Regions from separate parts of the Homo sapiens genome. Here regions 2 and 3 are each linked to region 1. Evidence: promoter capture Hi-C in human tissues and cell types (Jung and others, 2019). All regions are on one chromosome and are shown on one strand. The core of a region is centred on a gene start or on the middle of the fragment in contact, and the rest is flanking DNA. Distances in the headings are between cores, read along the strand shown.

What was found. The method cuts DNA at HindIII sites, captures the fragments that hold promoters and counts their contacts. A contact is called where the count stands out against the background at its distance.
Region 2: a fragment that was not itself captured here is called in contact with the fragment with the promoter of OCA2 in region 1 in 1 of the 25 tissues and cell types used here (dorsolateral prefrontal cortex).
Region 3: a fragment that was not itself captured here is called in contact with the fragment with the promoter of OCA2 in region 1 in 1 of the 25 tissues and cell types used here (dorsolateral prefrontal cortex).

What each region holds. Positions count from the first base shown.
Region 1 is chr15:28,097,482-28,100,857 of GRCh38, forward strand. OCA2 (OCA2 melanosomal transmembrane protein) reads right to left here and starts at 1,834. Exons shown (of 24, transcript NM_000275.3): 1 at 1,743-1,834. RefSeq lists an enhancer at 1,129-1,781. The HindIII fragment of the contact is 22,507 bases long and covers 1-3,376 here.
Region 2 is chr15:27,027,970-27,031,502 of GRCh38, forward strand. All of the region lies in intron 3 of GABRG3 (gamma-aminobutyric acid type A receptor subunit gamma3), which reads left to right. Among named protein-coding and RNA genes, the nearest start is that of GABRG3, 59 kb to the left of the region's middle. The HindIII fragment of the contact is 3,286 bases long and covers 1-3,286 here.
Region 3 is chr15:27,002,259-27,005,597 of GRCh38, forward strand. The region is part of intron 2 of GABRG3 (gamma-aminobutyric acid type A receptor subunit gamma3); the gene reads left to right. Among named protein-coding and RNA genes, the nearest start is that of GABRG3, 33 kb to the left of the region's middle. The HindIII fragment of the contact is 3,227 bases long and covers 309-3,339 here.

The sequences.
Region 1 (3,376 bases), core at 584-3,083:
TGGCCTCCAGGCTCTGGGCTTTCCTCCCCTCTGTGGTAGCCTTTATCTCCATTGCAAGCCATCTTTCCACTACTAACAGTTAAAAGCCTCCCCTTTCTCTCTACTCTCCCAAGAAACCTCATCCTCACCTGTGGACAGGTGGCCGCCCAACTCTCTTCTGCAGCTCAAACCACTGTGTCCATCTACCTCTTTGTGTCCCTAGACATAAAGGTACCCAAAACTCCCAGAGTGCTGAAGCCACACCTGGCCTTTCCCAGGGGCCCACTGATCCCACCATCCATCACCCATCACCAACTGGGAATCCCCCCTGCAGCTCACCAGTGCTTCCCTGCCCCGGCCTGGCAACCACACTCAGTGGGAAGGCCTTGGCAGTGGCTTTCTTCAACTCCCCAGCTGCTCCCAACCCCCCAGCCACAGTGATCTTTCCAAAATGCATATGGCCTCAAACTCAAAATATTTCCTTGCTGCCTGCCACTCCAGCATAGAAACGGGGACCCAGGTGACACAGGTGTCATGCCGCTGGGTTTCCAGGGACAGCCAGGACCTCCCCATTCCTGGTATTCCTGATATCCTCAGATCTCAGCTGCTCCAGGGGCTGGAGGTTGCGTTCTTCTCATAAAACAAGAACAGTATAGGCATTTGCTTTTCATCAGTGTAATGAAACTTTAGGGACTTATGATCCTAAATCACATTACACCAATGTGAACTGCACTCAAATTGTTGTAAACTAAATTTGCAGAACAAGCAGTTTTTGTGCAATTCTTTGCAGTCTACTCAGCTCTTTCATCTCTGTGTTCAGGTTCAATCCTCATTAGTTCTTCTATGAGAGATAGTTATCCCCAGATGCGTTCAATGCTCAGCTCCTTGCCCTGGCAGGCCCCGTCCCAGGGTCCTGGATGGCAGATGCCATGCCCGCCCCGCGAAGCTCAGGCTCACCAAGCAAGCAAACCGCAGCTGGTTTAGGTAGACAGCAGCTGCCCACAACTGCTAACAGCCTCGGGTTTCTTTTCCTCAGAATCACTCACCCTAAATCTACACATTGTAGACTGTCACATTGGTCTAAGTAGTGCTCCTCAAAGTGCACTGCACATTAGAGTCACCTGGGGAGCTTCACCGCCGGGCCCCAGGCTCTGATTCGCCCAATGGGAAGGGAGCACCGGGCACTTGTCCTGAGCCCCTGGCCCCTGCCTGGTTCTGCAAACCCAGAGCGTCCACATACCAGGCTTCCTGTGCTTAACATTGTGTCCTTGAAAAGAGCTAGCTGCACTAATGCCCATTGATTTCACTGTGTGTGACCACAGTAAAGAGAAGCAGCTTTGAGGGATTTAGTGTTTTCACTCCAGTGCATTCCATTCTAAGGAAACGCCTGACCACGGCTCATGGCTAGGAGGCCCCGCAGTGCCAGATGCTGCCCTGGAGTTCAAGTGGAACATTTGCTGTCTGAACCTTTCCAAACTCCCCCCACCCATGACCTCATGGCCCACCAGGGGGCGACTTTTTCCTGGGTCGCCTGGCAGAGAGCCGGAGGGGGTGCTCAGGGGGCAGCTGCTGCAGGCCCAGGCGGACTCAGCCGCGCTAGGTCGGCTCCGTCGCACCCGTCTGTGCACACTAACCTTTAGGGGAACTTGCCTTGCTTCCTAAGCCGCGACTCAGCCGGGGCTGTGTAAACCCTCCCTGCCTGTTCCCAGGCTAGTCTGGCTCCTCGCCTCCTTCCTCCCGACCGCGGAGCACGTGCACTTTACCTGCGCACTTGCAGATCTTTCTCCAGGAGTGAGTTTAAGGTCCGCACCTCCGCTCTGGATGGTGAGCGGAGCACAGCCTTCGAAGTAAGAACTCAGAGGGAGCTCGGCGCTCCCGCAGCGGGTCCCCCACCCAGGCACGCCCCCGGCCCGGCCCCGCCCACAGCACTCCCCACTCGGCCCCGCCCACAGTGCGGCCACGCCCGTAGCACGCCCCTCCCGGCCACGCCCACAAAGCTGCCCACATGGCCCCGCCCACAGCTCGCCCGCTCCGCACCCCCGGCCCCTCAGCTCCCCAGCCCCCGGCGGCGCGGGCTGAGAGCAGCTCCGTCTAAGGCCACGCCGCCCCGGCGTCCCCGACAGCGCTCTCCGCGGGGATAGTTTCCAGCTTTACCTCTAAAGAGGCGGCCCAGGACTGCGGACAGGCTTTTCCCTATGAACAAGAACGGGGAAATGCTCAGTGAACATTCTGTTCCCTTCAGAGCTCTCCCAGCGGGCACTGAGAGGCCCTCCAGCTAGGACGCCAAGGTTACACTTGCCGACAGCCCCTCCTGCAGCACAGACACACACACGAGATACACAGACACACACAGATACACAGACACACACAGATACACACAGACACACACACAGATACAGAGATAGACACGATATACACAGACACAGATACACAGATACACATACACAGAGACACACACAGAGACACAGCAATACACAGACACACAGATACAGGACACAGATACACAGATGACACACAAGGACACATGCAGATACACAGACACACATACACAGATACACACAGACACATGCACAGATACACAGAGACACACACACAGGCACAGAGATACACACAGATACACAGATATACACACAGACACAGATACACAGACACACACAAATATATACAGATACTCAGACACAGATACACAGACACAGGTACAGACACACAGATACAGATACAGAGATACATACAGATACAGAGATACAGAGACACACACAGATACACACACGGACACACACAGAGATACACAGACACAGATATACACAGGCACACAGATACAGACACACAGATACACACATGCACAGATACACACAGATACAGAGATCTACACACAGAGATACACAGACACACAGATACGCAGACACAGAGATACACAGATACATAGACACATACAGACACACACACAGATACATGCACAGACACACACGCAGATACACATATACAGATATACAAACACAGATATACGCACAGACACACACAGATACACACACAGATACAGACACACACACAGATACACGCACAAACACATGGAGACAACACAGCTACAGACACACACACAGCTGCAGTGGCCAGGCCCTGCACAGGAATTGGCAGGAAGTAAGAGGCTCCATCCACAGTGTAACAGCAGAGCTGAAAGAGATCTCATGCCTTATAACAGAGCACATTGCACAGCCACAGGGTGGGCCAGGGGTTGCCCTGGTAGCAGGGACCGAGGATGTCCTCGGCATGGCAGGCTCCAGGACACTGAAGTTCCCAGCCAGGGCCCTGACAGCAGGAGAGCCCGAGATCTCTGAGACCACATTCACTGTCGCATGTGCAGACCCCTCAGTTCAGACCGCCGTGTGCGTTAGGTGTG
Region 2 (3,533 bases), core at 394-2,893, 1.1 Mb before region 1:
GAAGAAGTGCCTTCCTGGATATATGGTTACAGAATTATTTCAGGAAGTCAATTGCATTTGCATATAGAGGGATTTTCCTGCAGGCCTTTAACTTTAGAATTTACTTTGTGCCTCGTGTTAGGCTTTGTTATTGGAATAGACGGGAATTTTCATGTGGAAATCACGGGCTGCAGAGAAGGAGGCCGAGTGAGTGACAGGCTCCTTCACGGTGATACGGCCCTGCTGCAGGAGTGGAAGGGACTTCTCCAGTGAGGTCCTCTTCATCTGAAACTTGACGGATAGGCAAGAGTGTGCTAGGTGGGATAAAGTTTGAAGGTCCTTAGTAACACAGGAGGACAGAGTGCGTCACACAGCTGGGGACGAGGGAGTGATGTGTGGAGAGATGCCTGGAGGGGCACATGGGGGCAGCTGTGACCAAGGCCCTGAAGCTGCAGTTAAGGGTCGGACCTCAGCCTTCTCTTCATCCAAAACAGATCCCTGCGTTTGGAAACTGTGAAAACCTTTTCCCATCAGAGATCTGAGCAGGTCATATTTCATGAGATTTGTTCAAATCCAGGCCGGGCACAGTGGCTCACGCCTGTAATCCCAGCACTTTGGGAGGCTGAGGCAGGCAGATCACAAGGTCAGGAGTTCGAGACCAGCCTGGTCAACGTGATGAAACCCTGACTCTACTAAAAATATAAAAAATCAGCTGGGCATGGTGGCAGGCGCCTGTAGTCTCAGCTACTCGAGAGGCTGAGGCAGAAGAATCGCTTGAATCCAGGAGGCGGAGGTTGCAGTGAGCCAAGATTGAGCCACTGCACTCCAGCCTGGGTGACAGAGCTAGACTTCATCTCAAAAAAAAAAAAAAAAAAAAATCCAGTAAGATCGCTAGTCAGACCCCTCTCTCCCTGAAAAAAAACAAAAACTACATGATGATGCAGAGCTCACATTAGGGACTTGAAATCATGAACTCTGATCCTTCCCTGTGGGGTGAGAAACGACCTTAGAATGGCCGGGGGCATTGTAAGCCCTGGGCCCTGGAGAAGAACACGTGTGCACCAGCATCCTGCTCATCTGGAGGCTGACACAGCAGGTTTCCAAGGCTGAGCTGTGGCAGGATGTGGAGTAGAAAGCTATTTTCTATTAACTCTCTCATTTGTAAAACTTGCCCTGAATATTTTGAAACTTCACTTAGTCCAGTTGGTTTTCTTTCTAGCATGGCTCTCTACCCTACTGAAGGGGTGGGGAGCCTGTGTGGCTGCCTGCTGCTGTGTGAGTTGGAAGCAGCTGGCACGCAGCCCTGGGGAAGCCGAATGCTAGCAAGTGCTTTCCTCTGCAAACAGCGCCGAGGCCGCAGTCAGCGCTCAGCAGGGATGGCACTGTCTAGGCCATTCTGGAGTCTGATTTCCTGAGGAAGACACAACGTACTACTAGCCTACCTCGGCTCAGCAAAGCATAGAGGGCAGGCAAGGATTTGTTTAAAATGCACACACACACACACACACGCATGCACACATGCACACACTCGTGCACACACACAGGCACACACGTACGTGTGCACACATGCATCACACGCACACATACAGGCGCACACACACGCACACACACGCACATTTATATGTTTAATTCCCATGTTCTCCTTGGGTGAGTTGCTGTGTGTCTCTCTCTGTTCCTTCACGCACATTTGCCATCCGACTAGTGTGAGGCATTGTCCTGGGTGAAGGTGAGACACGAGGAACCAAGGCCTGCTTTGGTGGGGCAAGTCTGTGGATGAGCTGAGTGCCACAGTGGAGGTAGGTTCCCTTCTAAGCAGCCCCGAGCTGGCAGGCTCTGGCTGGCCTGAGGGAAGTTTCAAAGCCCTCAGGAGGCAGGGGCCTCGGGGACCACTTCTGGAAGAATGAGTGTTTCTTACCTTTGTGCTGGGAATGCTTTGCTGGGACGCCAGAATGATAAGGGCATCTCACATTGCCGAGTGCATCACATAGACCCGCTATATCTGTGCAACCAAACGACGCAATTTTAAAAGAAGTAAAGGGCTTAAAAATGAAACACAGATCTTAGGAAAAATAATAGAAATTTTAAAGTAGAGAACTGACGGTGTAGGTGGGTATTGGGGATTGAGTTAGCAATAAAAAAGGATATAAGAAAGACTAAAACAATCAAAGAATACAAGATGAGAAGAAGCACAATTTAGAGATGCAGACAGGGTTTAAGGATGTAAATTTGTATTGGGGGTTTGACCGTAAAGGTAAAGCCTGGTAAAATTATGGCTTCTTGTCCAAATAGTCATTTAACAATCAATGAAACAGGGAACAATGACTATTTCACTTTCTCCTTCCTCTTCTTCCTCCTCCTTCTTTCACACTTTCTGCCTTTTATTGATATTATTAACACTGAAGATTCTGCCTCAGCCATTCCTTCTGTGGAGTGGAAATGAAGTTGTGTCTCAATCTATTGTTTAATAGATTATCTTTGTCTTGTTTATCCTGGAGCTGTTTATGCTTTTTCTAGTTATCGAGATTAGAAACGGGACCAGGGGAATGTTCCTCTACATGAAGCTTTCACAGCATCCTCTGCCTTTGTCGCTGCAACATACCTAAATGTGTAGCATTCATCAAAGAAAGTGTGTGTGGTTTGTTTCCACACCAGGAAAGCTGCATGCAAGGGGGCTTGTGAGTTTATTTTTGAGAATATCCACTTCAAGCAGCCTTTTAGGAAAGCAAAGAAGAAAACCAATGTTCTGACACTCTGTGCTATTGACCCCAAATCCTTTAATCTTCACAAGACCATAGTGGAGAAGATATTGACCTTCCTGCTTGTTTGAGTCCAGTAAGTGGAAGCTTGTGGAAGACATCTTAGAGCAAGGTTCTGAGTGTGACCTGCTTGGCAACAAAGCCCTGGCTTTGTTTCCTAGTCAATATGGACACACAGCAGCTGTACATACCTGTAGGGCCACAGCCTTAACATAGACACAAAAGGCTCAGTGTTAGGATTACTTTTCTGTGTTTTTTAAAAGAATTAAATTAATAAATTTTTTGAGCATTTTTAGGTTTACATAAAAATTGAGCAGAAAGTAGAGTTCCCCTATATATTTTCCTCTACACACACACAGACACACACACACACACACACACACATACAACACATAACACATTATTATTAACATCTTGCATTAGTGTATTGTATTTGTTACAATGAATGAATGCACCTTAATCCATCTTTATCATGCAAAGCCTATGGCTTACATTAGGATTCACTCTTGGTGTTGTTTATTTTATGGATTTCGACAAATGTCTAATGCCATGTATCTGCCACTATAGTATCTTAAGAACAGTGGCACTGCCCTTAAATCCTCTGTGCTCCACCTGTTTATCCCTTCCTATCCCCAGACGCTGGCAACCACTGATATTTTTACTGTTTCCATAGTTTTGCTTTTTCCTAAGTGTCACATACTTCAAATTATACAATAGTCAACCTTGTAGGATGGCTTTTTTTCCTTCGTTTTAAAAAGTACTGATACCAATTCATCTGAGGAAATCTAAGACTTGTAG
Region 3 (3,339 bases), core at 672-3,171, 1.1 Mb before region 1:
CAGGGCTCACTGGCCCACAGGGGGATTTTCCAGTGTTGTCCAGGACACCAATTCAGTGCCTGAATCATCCACACTTTCCTGGCAGCAAGCTATCCTTCAAAGATAGCACTTCCTCCCTCAGCATGGATTCTGATTTCACAAATAGTTTTAGAAATTTTAGCAGTGGGCTCATGGTGGTATTTGTCTAAACTATTTAACATTTTCTCTCAGCATTTTAATTTGTTAAATATCTTAATGAAGCCATTCTACTTTTAGTGCAGCATTTCATTTTTTTCTTTAGATATTATTTTTATTTTTAAGCTAAGAAATTTATGCTGTAAAAATGTGGGATGTGCGGAATAGTATAAAAACTAGAAATAAAAGCCATGCAGCTGGACATGGGGCTCATGTCTATCATCTCAGCACTTTGGGAGGCCAGGGCAGTAGGATTGCTTAAGGCCAGGAGTTTGAGAGCAGCCTGGGAAACATAGTGAGACCGTGTCTCTCAAAAAAAAAAAAAAAAAAAGGAAGGAAGGAAGGAAGGAAAGAAGGAAAGAGAGAAAGAGAGAAAGAGAGAAATAGCTAGATCTGGTGGTGTGTGCCTGTGGTCCCAGCTACTTGGGAGGCTGAGGTGGGAGGATTGCCTGAGCCCAGGAGTTTGAGGTTACAGTGAGCTACGATTGCATCACTGTATTCCAGCCTGGGTAACAGAATGAGACCCTGACTCGAAAATTAAATAAAATAAAATACAATAAATAAACAAAACAAAACAAAAACCATATGCCCCTATCCAGAAACTATCACATGTGAATATTTAAATATGTTTTCTTCAAGCTTCTATTACATTTATAAATTACAGAATTTGGTTTTTCTCACATAGCCTTATATCGTTGGTATTCAAGTATCATGAAATAGTTTTTATTTTTTTATTTTTTATTTTTTTTAATTTTGTATTTTTATTTTATATTTATTTATTTATTTATTTATTTATTTATTTATTTTTTATTGATCATTCTTGGGTGTTTCTCGCAGAGGGGGATTTGGCAGGGTCATAGGACAATAGTGGAGGGAAGGTCAGCAGATAAACAAGTGAACAAAGGTCTCTGGTTTTCCTAGGCAGAGGTCCCTGCGGCCTTCCGCAGTGTTTGTGTCCCTGGGTACTTGAGATTAGGGAGTGGTGATGACTCTTAACGAGCATGCTGCCTTCAAGCATCTGTTTAACAAAGCACATCTTGCACCGCCCTTAATCCATTTAACCCTGAGTGGACACAGCACATGTTTCAGAGAGCACAGGGCTGGGGGTAAGGTCACAGATCAACAGGATCCCAAGGCAGAAGAATTTTTCTTAGTACAGAACAAAATGAAAAGTCTGCCATGTATACTTCTTTCTACACAGACATGGCAACCATCCGATTTCTCAATCTTTTCCCCACCTTTCCCCCCTTTCTATTCCACAAAACCGCCATTGTCATCATGGCCCGTTCTCAATGAGCTGTTGGGTACACCTCCCAGACGGGGTGGTGGCCTGGCAGAGGGGCTCCTCACTTCCCAGTAGGGGCGGCTGGGCAGAGGCGCCCCTCACCTCCAGGACGGGGTGGCTGGCCGGGCGGGGGGGGCTGACCCCCCCACCTCCCTCCCAGACGGGGCGGCTGGCCGGGCAGAGGGGCTCCTCACTTCCCAGTAGGGGCGGCCGGGCAGAGGCGCCCCTCACCTCCTGGACGGGGCGGCTGGCCGGGCGGGGGGCTGACCCCCCACCTCCCTCCCGGACGGGGCGGCTGTCCGGGCGGGGGGCTGAACCCCCAACTCCCTCCCGGACGGGGCGGCTGACCCGGCGGGGGGCTGACCCCCCTACCTCCCTCCCGGACGGGGCGGCTGGCCGGGCGGGGGGCTGACCCCCCCACCTCCCTCCCGGACGGGGTGGCTGCCGGGCGGAGAGGCTCCTCACTTCCCAGACGGGGTGGCTGCCGGGCGGAGGGGCTCCTCACTTCTCAGATGGGGCAGTTGCCAGGCAGAAGGTCTCCTCACTTCTCAGACGGGGCGGCCGGGCAGAGACGCTCCTCACATCCCAGACGGGGTGGCGGGGCAGAGGCGGTCCCCACATCTCAGACAATGGGCGGCCGGGCAGAGACGCTCCTCACTTCCTGGATGTGATGGCGGCCGGGAAGAGGCGCTCCTCACTTCCTAGATGGGATGGCGGCCGGGCAGAGACGCTCCCCACTTTCCGGACTGGGCAGCCAGGCAGAGGGGCTCCTCACATCCCAGACGATGGGCGGTCAGGCAGAGACACTCCTCACTTCCCAGACGGGGTGGCGGCCGGGCAGAGGCTGCAATCTTGGCATTTTGGGAGGCCAAGGCAGGCGGCTGGGAGGTGGAGGTTGTAGCCAGCCGAGATCACGCCACTGCACTCCAGCCTGGGCACCATTGAGCACTCCATGAAATAGTTTTTAAACTGCATCTTGATTGTTTTATGTTTCCCAGTTGTCGGACATTTATTTGGTCTTAAAATTTTCATTATGATAAACAACACCAATGCAGAAATTTTTTACCTGCATTCGACATTTGTATTAGTTACATATTGCTGTAAAATAAACCGCCTTAAGATTCACTGGCCTACGACTGATGACTGTGTGGACTGGCATTGTGAGCGGGAGTCAGCTGGGCTGGACATACCTAATATGTCTACAGGCAGTTGGAGGACTGGCTGGATGGTGCCCAGTGGCTCCATTGGCCCATCTGGGCCTCAGCGGGGTGACTGGAAAGGCAAGAATAGCTGGGCCCCTCCGGGTGGTCATGCAAAGATAGCATTTTATTTTATTTTATTCTATTTTATTTTTCTGTAAGTTATTGGGGGTACAGGTGGTATAACAGTTTTAGAAATTTTCTAGCAGGATCATGGCAGTATTTGTCTAAACTATTTAACATTTTCCCTCAATATTTAAATTGTTAAATATCTTATTTTATTTTATTTATTTATTTATTTTTGAGATGGAGTCTCTCTCTGTCGCCAGGCTGGAGTGCGGTGGTGCAATCTCGGCTCACTGCAACCTCCGCCTCCCGGGTTCAAGCAATTCTTCTGCCTCAGCCTCCCGAGTAGCTGGGACTACAGGAGCAGGCCACCACGCCCAGCTTTAAATTGTTAAATATCTTAATGAAGCAGTGTGCTTTGAGTGCAGCATTTCATTTTTTTCTTTAGATATTATTTTTATTTTTAAGTTAAAAAGAAATTGTGAGACCTTGAACAAACTTTTGAGTCAATTACTATATAGGAAACAAAATCATGTTATCCTCTTTTACCCTTTCTCTTATTCGTTGTGCTCAAGCCTCTGATCTAGAACTGGAAGAAGCTTCAGCTCTAGCCAC